Regions from separate parts of the Homo sapiens genome. Here regions 1 and 3 are each linked to region 2. Evidence: promoter capture Hi-C in 16 types of primary human blood cells and fetal thymus (Javierre and others, 2016). All regions are on one chromosome and are shown on one strand. The core of a region is centred on a gene start or on the middle of the fragment in contact, and the rest is flanking DNA. Distances in the headings are between cores, read along the strand shown.

What was found. Contacts are between HindIII fragments. The CHiCAGO score rates a contact against its expected background, and 5 or more counts as called.
Region 1: a contact is called between a fragment that was not itself captured here and the fragment with the promoter of IGF2BP2 in region 2, in 1 of 17 cell types (endothelial precursors). The highest score is 7.5, in endothelial precursors.
Region 3: a contact is called between a fragment that was not itself captured here and the fragment with the promoter of IGF2BP2 in region 2, in 1 of 17 cell types (endothelial precursors). The highest score is 9.1, in endothelial precursors.

The regions. Positions count from the first base shown.
Region 1 is chr3:185,686,779-185,690,225 of GRCh38, forward strand. IGF2BP2 (insulin like growth factor 2 mRNA binding protein 2) reads right to left here. Exons shown (of 16, transcript NM_006548.6): 6 at 2,577-2,849; 7 at 279-413. Among named protein-coding and RNA genes, the nearest start is that of IGF2BP2-AS1, 25 kb to the right of the region's middle. RefSeq lists an enhancer at 1,691-2,890 and a silencer at 2,546-2,723. The HindIII fragment of the contact is 1,435 bases long and covers 960-2,394 here.
Region 2 is chr3:185,823,254-185,827,076 of GRCh38, forward strand. IGF2BP2 (insulin like growth factor 2 mRNA binding protein 2) reads right to left here and starts at 1,789. Exons shown (of 16, transcript NM_006548.6): 1 at 1,530-1,789. The coding sequence starts at 1,707. RefSeq lists an enhancer at 1-655 and silencers at 1,595-1,825, 1,837-2,106, 2,517-2,606. The HindIII fragment of the contact is 1,788 bases long and covers 1,694-3,481 here.
Region 3 is chr3:185,670,051-185,673,563 of GRCh38, forward strand. IGF2BP2 (insulin like growth factor 2 mRNA binding protein 2) reads right to left here. Exons shown (of 16, transcript NM_006548.6): 10 at 2,491-2,619. Among named protein-coding and RNA genes, the nearest start is that of IGF2BP2-AS1, 41 kb to the right of the region's middle. The HindIII fragment of the contact is 2,213 bases long and covers 188-2,400 here.

The DNA of each region.
Region 1 (3,447 bases), core at 427-2,926, 140 kb before region 2:
ATGAGTCTGTATGTTCCTCCCAATAATTACTATCAATGGGTGATAGAAGCATCAAAATCACCGAGAGACATGCAAGTGAAGAGACAGCCATATGTAAATGCAAAAGATCTACTTCCCACTGTATTCTACTTGGGAACAAATTTCTTAAACACAATCCCTCCCTGCCTCTGTTACTGAGTAACAGATTTGGAGTTTTTAAAAAAAACCTCTTGGGTTAAATGAGGGAGAATCTACTCTTTTTCTCTGTTGAGTGATCTGGGCATTGCATGCAAACTTACAGTTTGGTCTCATCTGCCTCTTTCTGCATGATTTCAAGAATCATGCGGCATGCTTCAGAAGTCCCCTCTGGGGTGGCATGGATGGTGACAGGCTTCTCTGCAGCTCCAGAGTTCTCTTTTCTATGGATATCTACCCTGTAGGAAAAGAATCAGGAGCCATGATTACAAGGTCATCTGGATAGGACCCTAGCCCCAAGAAAGCGTCACACCAACCCATGTACAGCAAGGACACAGACAGACAAGGAGGCGTCATCAGCACGTTTGCAATCAGTGCCATTCTCCAAGAAGGAGGCAAGCAGTGCAGGGGGTCTTGTGCCAAATTTTAATTATTTGCAGCTTCATTTAGAAGGGAACGGTTCTTACAGGAGTGCTGTAGGACAAAGGCACTAAGCCAACTCAGTAATGAAGCCAGTTTGGTAAATGAAGTATTTTGTGTAGTCTTTCAAATGACTGCAGAAGTGAAGAGTAAAGTGAGAAGGATAATACTGCACATTGGCACAGTGCCGGTCTCTGAACTGATTGCAGCTTTTAAAAGCCATATGTTAATCCAAATCCGAACACCAAATTCAAGCAAGCTTTATATATTTGAGTGTGGATAGAAAACAGAGGCATGCCCTCTCTCTGCCTAAGTTTTTGGTTTCCTTTCCATTGGCAGCCTGCCATTAAGACTAATGGCTCAAAAGCTTGATGACTTTATCAGACTTCTTTGGGTAGTTGTGGTCCTACCTGTTTTTGTTAACTTTCAAAATTACATAACTGATTATATCCTTTTTACTTTGGTTGTTAGAAAGCCTAGAGCCAAGTCTTTGGTTGACGTCTAAAAAATGGGCACACACTTTGAGAGCTAACCCCACTTCTATTTAAACTTGTTACATTTTTTTTTCAAGCCACCTTACACAATTTTTGCACAAAAAGACACAAATAAAAGTCACTTTCGCAGTGAACTTGGAGGAAAAGCCAGGGCTGATTTTAAAATAAAAGGATACCAAACAGTAACTTCCCTCTCTATTTCCTCACTTCTAAGATGTGGCACTCCAGACTCATCCATATCAGTGTCTATTATTTGGGGATAAATAAGACATTCTGAAGAAAATAGCATTTCTCTTTCAGGTTACAAGACACCCACTGAATGACCTGAATAAAGTGTACCAGCCCATGTAAATAATTATTATGTGTCAGTAATTGGGTGCTTTGCAATTTAAGTACTTTCATATTAATTATTTCACTCAATCTCCCTGATTGTGCTAATTGTCATAATAATCCTGGCAAAACAGACAGGAACCCTCTATTTATTTATTTATTTAGAGATGGAGTTTCACTCTGTTGCCCAGGCTGGAGTGCAGTGGCGCCATCTCGGCTCACTGCAACCTCCGCCTCCTGGGTTCAAGTGATTCTCCTGCCTCAGCCTCCAGAGTAGCTGGGATTACAGGCGTGAGCCACCACAACTGGCTGATTTTTGTATTTTTAGTAGAGACAGGGTTTCACCATGTTAGCCAGGCTGGTCTCGAACTCCTGACCTCAGATGATCCCCCTGCTTCAGCCTCCCAAAGTGCTGGGATTACAGGGATGAGTCTCTGTAATACAGAGGGTGCCCAGCCAGAACCCTCTTTTTATAGAAGAGGCAACTGATGCTCAGAGAGGTTAACATCTTTTCCAAGATCACAAAACCATTTAAAGTGCTACAACTTGAACGTAAGTCTTTGTTTTCAAGTCCCGAGCTTGCTTTATTACATCATGCTACAGTCTTAGGAAGATACAAAAATCAACAATTCCATAAGACGTTTTATTCACCAACTCTTACAATCAGTTCAGTCTCCTTGAACAGGGAGGAAACTAAACAGAAGGCCAGTGTGCTTTATTTCTTGCTTGACGTGGCAGTGACTCACCCACTTCTTTGTGAGACTACCTATGTTGTCACAAGAATGGCCACCCCCAGGGCTCTGACTCAGGGGAAGAGGAAGAGCTATGATGAGTGGGTTCTAGGATCCCGCAGAGCTCCAAACCTCTGCTTTTGTAGAAATCAATGCATCCATAAGCATTAGTTCGCTTACAGGAACAGTCCTGGCTGTGAGGTTATCAGTACCCTCTTTATGAACTTTTAGCCTCTCAGCATGAAAGCTTGTCACAGCCCCCAGCTTGATGTTAGTCTGTTAGTAGTCCTGTTGAAAGAAGCCACTGTCTCTTACAGCACAGCCCCCCACTGCTGATGTAAGCAATTGTGACCTAAGAGTGGCTGAGACCCACCAGCACGCAGGGGACCCCTCAGAAGGAAGCAAAGGAAGCCCCACAGGCACGTACCGGGACTGGGTCTGCTTAGTGATGTTCTTTATGGTCAAGCCCTCCTTTCCGATGATGGCACCAACAAACTGGGTGGGGACCAGGATCCGCAGCGGGAAATCAATCTGTCTGGCCTGAGAAGTGCCCCCAGGGGCGTGGCCTTGCTCCCGGGAAGAGTGGTCCCCACGCTGGGCTCGCTGAGGGGGCGAAGGGGAGCTCACCTCTTCATCCGGGATGTAGGAAATCTTGAAGGAGTAGTTCTCAAACTGATGCCCGCTTAGCTTCTCCATGGCTCTGAAATGCAGCAGGACAGGGGAGCTTCGTCAGAAACCAACATCAAGAAAGACCCTCCCGGCCGGGCGCGGTGGCTCACGCCTGTAATCCCAGCACTTTGGGAGGCCGAGGCGGGTGGATCACGAGGTCAGGAGATCGAGACCATCCCGGCTAAAACGGTGAAACCCCGTCTCTACTAAAAATACAAAAAATTAGCCGGGCGTAGTGGCGGGCGCCTGTAGTCCCAGCTACTTGGGAGGCTGAGGCAGGAGAATGGCGTGAACCCGGGAGGCGGAGCTTGCAGTGAGCCGAGATCCTGCCACTGCACTCCAGCCTGGGCGACAGAGCGAGACTCCGTCTCAAAAAAAAAAAAAAAAAGAAAGACCCTCCCGCAAGACTGGTTCATTCACTCCCATTTAATAGGTGCCTATATGGTGCCATGCCAGGCACTGAACATACAGTGGTGAGCAAGACAGACACCATCTCTGCTCCCTCAGGGCTTACGGTTAACAGTTAAACAAGTAATCACAACGCATCAGCCTGGTCAGGCTTCATATCCAACATTACAGCCTGGTTTCTCCACCACTCAAGGCCATTTCCCCCTTATCAAAAACTCTTA
Region 2 (3,823 bases), core at 539-3,038:
TCAAGCCCGCGGGGGTCTAGGGGGGGCACGCACGGAACTCCACGCTCGGGCTCCGCCTTCGGGCGCCCCCAAGGGGTCTCCTACCCGGATCGAGCTGGGCGAACTTGGTTCCCAGTAGAAAGAAAGGTGGGCGCCCCGTGTCTCGGGACAAGGCGAGGAGGGTGCGAGCCCGGGTCGGACCCCAGGTATAGCCGTGGGTGGCATTACCGGAAAAACAAATTTAATAAAGAGCGGCGCCAATTTGAAAGGATGAGCTCATTTGAAACTCAAGCTGCAGGGCTGGCGCGGCCCCGCTGCTCTCCCGGCCCCCACCTCTCCATTCCGCTAATCCGGGGCCCGAAGGCTCCACCGGGCTCCCCTCCCTGCCCTCTCCTCCCGGTGGCCCCGAGAAAACGAGCCGAAGCCCCCCGGAGTCCGCCGCAGCGACAGCCCTGTCCCTGCCCGCTCCTGGGTGTCACCTTGGCCTCGCCGCCGCCCCGCCCCCACTCCACACGCCGGTGGGGAAGGGGCTCCCGCCGGGCCGGGGTTCGGGGGGCGCCGGCCGGGGCCCGGGGGCCCGCGCGGCTGGGAGCGGAGCGTGTGCTGGGGAGAGTTGGGGAGTGCGCGCGCGCGAGTGTGTGTGTGTGTCGCTCTCCGTCTCCTGTCTGGGCTCCAGCGCGCTCGCGGGCCCCCCGGTCGCCTCTTTCCCGGTTCTCAACCCTGGCCCCCACCGAGTTGAGACAGGGCACCTCGTAAAAAGGTGCTTCTGGCCGAGCGGGAGGCGGGGGGACGGGCGGCGGAAAGCCCCCAGCCCCGAGTTCTTCTCAATAAAATCGGACAAAAAATTCAGAGAAAAATAGGAGCGCTTGAGAGAGCAAGCGAGAGGGGACTGAGGTTCGGGAAAGGACCGAGGGGATGTGCCGTCGTGCGAGGGCTGGGGCTGGGGGAGCCCCGAGATCTCGAAGGGGGTCACCAGGGTGGCGCCGAGGGGGTGCCAAAAGTGGGGGGCCGTGGGGCGAGGTGGGGAGGGGGCTCGAAAGGAGAGTGCGGCTCAGGAGACGCCAGAGGGCGAGAGGTTCTGGGCACGAGGCACTGGAAGAGAGAAGGTCCGGCCGGGGGAGGAGGAAGAGACGCTGGATTTGGGGAAGGGGGGACCCTGACAAAGGGGGTGACAGGAAGGTCAGGGGAGAAGTGAGACAGGGGACGCTCAAAGGGTGGGGGGCGGGGAAGCTCAGAGCAGCCCGGGGCGCCAGGCGAACGAGGGGTGCCCCTAAGGAGCCGGCGAGCCTCGGGAGCCTTCGGAGCGGCACGGGGGGCGCCCCAAGGCTGCGGCCCCGAGGGCGAGGGCAGAGTCCAGAGCTGTGGGGGGAGGGGAGCGGGCCGTCCCAGGAGCGGGCCGGCGGCGAGAGTTGAGGGTCTGGTGCGTGGAAGTGAGCGTGCGGGCGCGGGAGCCGCCGCCGGGCGCCGCCCGCCGGACTCGGCCTCCCTCCCGGCGCCGTCCCGGCCTGAGCGGGGCGAGGCGGGGGGAGGGGGCCGCGCTGAGTGCTCACCCGAGAGGGTCTCGATGGCGCGGATGGCCCAGTTCTGGTCGGGGTAGTCCACGAAGGCGTAGCCGGACTTCAGCAGGACCTGTCCCGCCAGGGGCAGCTTCCTGTCCCCAAAGAGCTGCCGGAGGTCGTCGGCGGTGACGGCGGGGCTCAGGTTCCCGATGTAAAGCTTGTTCATCATCCGTCTCTTCCCCGAGAGCCCGCGGCTCCCCCGGCCCGGTACCCGGCGCTCCTCGCCTCCTCCGCTGCCCTCGTCTCTCCTCCTCCTCCGCCCCCCCTCCCCGCCCTCCGCCCGCCCGCCACCCACCCCCACCCTCAGCCTGGCTCCCCCCACCGCGGCCGGCCCGGCCCGCCCGGGGGCAGAGGCGGAGGCGGGGACTCGGCGCGGCTGCCTCCTCGGGGCAGAGTCCCGGGCCGGGCGGCGGCGCGCGGACAAAGCGCTCTCTCTGCCTCCCTCTCTCTCCCTCTCAAGGCGGTGGCGGGAGGAGGAGCAGCGGCGGGCGGCGGCAGCGCACCCCGCGTGTGTCTGTGTGAGAGTTTGTACGGGCGTGTGCGCAGCCGAGAGGGAGCGAGCGAGCGCCCCCTCCCCGCCCCGCGCCGCTGCGCCCCTCGCCTCGCGCCCACCGCGCTCGGCAGTGGCTGCTCGGGCTCCGGCCCCGCGCCAGGCGGGCGGAAGCGGGTCGCGGCCCCGGGCTGGGGCTCCGGGCGCCGGAACCCCGGGCGGGCGCGGCGCCGAGGCCGGGCGAGCGGCGGGGCGGGGAAGGCGCGCCCCGGGCGCGGGTGGGAGCGCGCGAGGGGGCGACGGGGAGCCGCGGGCGTGGGAGGGAGAGGGGCTGCGAGTGAGCGCGGAGAGGGGTGTGCGCAAGGTGGACCGGATGTGAGTGCGCTGCTGCCAGGGCAAGCGGGAAGGTGTGTCCCGGAGGTGAGAGGCGAGGGCAGGCTGGGAGACAACAACTTTCGCAGCGACTTGGCCGGGGCTGGCGCCCTGCGCGTTCCCGGGCCGTGCGCTCGCTCTGAGACCCGCTCCCCGCCACGCTCTCTGAGGTGACCGAGCGGCGCGTGTGGTCGAAGGATCGCGCGCGGGAGTCGGGACGCCTAGGACCGGGGTTGGCCGGGCCCTCGCGGACCGTGCTCGCGGGGAAGTGGTTCCCGGTCCCGGGCCTCAGTTTCCCGACCGGGGAGGGAAGGCGGAAGGCCAGCGCGGAGTCACGTCCTCTCCGCCCAGACCCCGCGTGTCCGGAACCCCGCGGCAGGCGGCAGCCTGACGTTGGCAGCTGCTCTCTATTCTGGGAAGTGCCGAGGGCTTCCCGGGCGGCGGCGGCGAAAGCCAGGTGGCGGGTGGGGAAACGAACGCCGAGGGGCCAGGGACTGCGGCGAGGCCGGAGCGCTGGGGTCAGCGGCCGGGGGACGGATGGTCGCCGCCCGGCTGCGCGGCCGGTTCAGCTCCAAAGCCAGGGTGGTGGGAGGCGAGGGTGGCTGGAAGCGGAGGAGCGCAGGCTGTGTAGGAGTTCCCCGAGCACTGGGAAGGGCCCGGAGAGGAAAGAGGTCCTTCCAAGCGGAGGAAACAACGTGACCGACGGAAGAGGCAGGGTTGGGATGAGAGCAGGCTGGAGCCGAGGGGCTCGGGCAGGAGCCAGACAGGCTAGAGCGGGCTGCAAGTTCCGGGGCCCGGCTGGAAGCCTGATGGTTAGAGCCTGGTCCCAGCCAGGAAATGAAATTCTACAGGAGGGAGAAGAATGGCGGGATTCAGAGGTGAGGAGGCAGAAGAAGATTCCAAGCTCTGGACCTCTGGGGGCCACTGGGAGAGTTGAAGGTTTGATCGCGGATATGTTGGGTTTTGTGAAGGCGTTGGGGCGCGGGTGCGGGGAGTGTCCTTGGGTGGAGAAGTCACGAATGTAGGAATGGAACAAGTTCGGGTCTCCTGACTGGGTCGTGAAGTAGTATTGTCTTTCCCAAGCTTTCCTGTTGATGAGCGGCGTGGAGAGAATGGGGCTTGCTGGATTTTGTATTTTCCGCAAGTACTCCCAGGTGATTCTGGTCTGGTAAACACTGTTGGAGTGGAAGGCCTATCTGCCCCGGACTCAGACCTTCTCTCTGCCCCCATCTTTGTGCCCTGAGATGTTCCAGCATTCTCGAGCCTAAGTTTCTTCATCTATAAGGAGATAAAATAACCAGTCCTCGCAGGGCTGTTGTGAGGGCTACAAGAAGGATAACTGCCTAGCGTGTTGAGACATGGGTGGTCAGACACTTAATGCCTGTTTCTCTTCTTTCCCCCAGGAATTCATGAACTTTTAAAA
Region 3 (3,513 bases), core at 44-2,543, 150 kb before region 2:
AGTGTACTGGATTAGAAGCTACTCTAATATTGACCCATGGAATCAAGATCAGAATTACCTGGTTGTTTTTGTTTTGTTTTTAGTTTAACAATTTTTTATTTAAAACCTATTTTACAAATAACAGGAAACACATATTTTAGCAAAATGGTTATTCTACTATTTTAGTAAAAATCTGAGATATAAAGGAAGCTTTCCAACTAGCAAAACCTATTTTCAAGTTTAGAAAATATTCTGCTATTAAAAGAAAAATTCTCTCCTTGTTAAATTTAGTTCAGGGGTCAGCAAACTTTTTCTGCAAAGGAGCAAATCATAAATATTTTAGGCTTTGTGGCTCATGTGATCTGTATGTATCTACTCAGCTCTGCCACTACAGGGGGAAAGCAGGAATAGATAATATGTATATAAACAGCCATGGCTGTGTCCCCTAAAAAACTTTATTAATGAAAATAAATGGTGAGCTAGATTTGGCCCTCAGGTTGTAGCATGCTGACTCCTATATTTGAGATTACCAATTTATTTATTTATTTATTTATTTTGAGACAAAGTCTCACTCTGTTGCCCAGGCTGGAGTGCAGTGCCACGATCTCAGCTCACCGTAACCTCCGCCTCCAGGGTTCAAGTGATTCTCCTTGCCTCAGCCTCCCAAGTAGCTGGGATTACAGGCGTGCACCACCACACCTGGCTAATTCTTGTAGTTTTAGTAGAGACGGGGTTTCACCATGCTGGCTAGGTCAGTCTTGAACTCCTGACCTCAGGAGATCCACCTGCTTCAGCCTCCCAAAGTGCTGGGATTACAGGCGTGAGCCATCATGCCCGGCCTAGATTACCGATTTTAGAATTGGTCTAATTTATTATGCCCTTTTTCTCTCCCCACTTATATTACCTATACTAAGAGGGTAGCCTAACGTTTGAGGTTATCTTCTGTGGGGCTGTATGTACAGCCTCTCTCCCAAGAAATGATGATGTGCCTCAATGCCACTTGGTTGTACCTCATTGGGCCATTCTCAGATCTGACAGCAAAAATACAGAGATGTGAAACTCCCAAGCTATTCTTACTGCTTGGCGCAGCCATGTGACTGACAGCTGCCACAATCCCTCATACTGCATCTTCAGGCTACTCAACACACAAGGCTCAGTGTCAGTCCCCTCCTTCAGTTTAAGGGGAAATGATATAACTAAAGAGGTGGTATGAAGAGATTTAGAAATGACTCAGGGGGCTGGGCGTAGTGGCTCCTGCCTATAATCCCAGCACTTTGGAAGGCCGAGGCAGGCAGATCACGAGGTCAGGAGATGGAGACCATCCTGGCCAACATGGTGAAACCCCTTCTCTACTAAAATTAGCTGGGTGTGGTGATGCATGCCTGTAATCCCAGCTACTTGGGATGCTGAGGCACGAGAATAGCTCGAACCCAGGAGGTGGAGGTTGCAGTGAGACAAGATCGCGCCACTGCACTCCAGCCTGGCGACAGAGCAAGACTCCATCTCAAAAAAAAAAAAAAAAGAAAAAGAAAAAGAAAAGATTCAGAAGAGCCATATATAAGCAAGAATGCAGAATGTGTGCATATATGTGACTCAGCATGTGGGTGCCAGTTTGTGTCTGCATTTTGTTGGCAGGATGGCACAGGGGATTCATCCTGTCTCTCTACAGATAACCCAAAAAGCTACTGGGAATTCACACAATGTGAAGCCTACCCCAGAAAGCACTTCTCAAAAGAACAGAATGGCTGAGGCAATGTTCACCCACCTGATTCTTCCCATTTAAACAGCATAAACATTGGGGGAAAGTTTGCTTTTAAAAATAAGCAGTCTGCGTAGAGAAAAATTAGGAATGAAAAAAAGCTGTCAAGTATCCTGAGCCCCCAATTTGGTAATGTACTGATCTTGAATAATGCTTGTGAATGAAAGCAATAAGTAAAACACTCACAAAATTCACATTTCTTCTTCTGTTGTGAACAAATACTTATTGAGAACTTACTAAATACCAGGCATTGTGCTAAGTGTTTAGACATAAACAATGTATGTAATATTTTCTTTTAAAAATTGCCTATTAATAAGACAATACATTTGACTTGTAAACATAGGTAGAAACTGCACATGTATGTATGTAGATATATATCTCTCTTCAAGAATCATCCAGGTACCCTATATATTTTAATAAATTACCATCACTCATGAAATGTTCTTATTTGAGCTAACAAGTTCTTTTCTATAATAAATTAGCTTCTAGTTGATGAATTTGCTATGAGTTTCTTTCTTTGCTAGTTATGACATACTATATTTAAGAACACGTGTTTAGAGGATTGGTTTAATATTAAGTTGCCCATTAGGAAGAAGTCCTAAGAAATGTTGAGTTCAACCTACATTGGATTCATCTCTACTCGAGCATGGCCTTTAAATGAAAGCTTCCGTTCTGATTCCACACAGCAGAGGCATGCTGCTGCCTGGAGGTGCCCAGCGCATAAGCAAACCTCCACAAGCTGAGCTACTTACAGTGAAGGGGTGGTAGGGGGCAGCGGGGGGAGCTCCGCGGGGCCCTGCTGGTGGAGATAGCACGGACAGTCCTGTTGAAAAGATGCCAAGTGCGCTGAGGTTCAACCCTGGGATCAGATTGGCTTGTTGCTGGGAATAGAAATGGAGAAAAAAGATGAAGGGAGGAGACCAGAGAGGCCCGCACGCCTGGGTCAACCTCCCTCTCTTGTCTTAATGGCACCAGCGTCTCCTAATCAGCTCTGCCCAGGCTCTTCCTACCCTGTATCAGAGGTGGGTGCCACATCTTAACCTGACCATGGTGTTCCTTCAAGGCTTCTCTGCCACACTTGGGCATGTCTACATATCTTGTCATGGAAAATGAGGCTCTTCCTGGGGATGGCAGCCACCTTGCCAGCCTCACTCCTGCTAACCCTTCATCTCCAACCTGGCCAGTCCTGTTTCCTAAATACCTCTGAGCCCCTTCACATGCTATTTATTTCCTAGGCAAGGAAGTGCTTTTCTCCCTTCTCACCTGGCTAAGTCCTACTGACCTGTGGGTTTCACCTGAGCATAGATTACCCCTCATGCAGGAAGCTTTCTTTCATCCCAAAGATCAGCTCAAATGCCCTGTCTGTGCTCTCCAGCATTCCTGTTTCCCTAAGACAGCACTCATTACATGGTATGTGAATAGCCTGTTTAGTTACCTCTTCCCCTTTCAGACTAGAATTTCCTTGCAAACAGAGAATGTCTTACTTAGTGTCGTGTTCTCAGTGCCTGGTATATAGTAAGTACTCAATAAATATTTGTTGAATGACTGTTTAAAACAAATTGGATTAACAGTGTTTTCCAACTCTATCCATGGAGAGATCAGATTCTTCACATGATGTAAATTCCCACATACGTAAACTCCATTAGCCAGGTTCGGGATGGTTTACAACTTTGTCTCTTTACTATTTAGTTGTCGGCTTTGTGATCATCTTGCTTGCTTGCTTATCTTACATTTCTACATGGGGATGGTCACACAGACTGGGGGTGGGTTTAGCC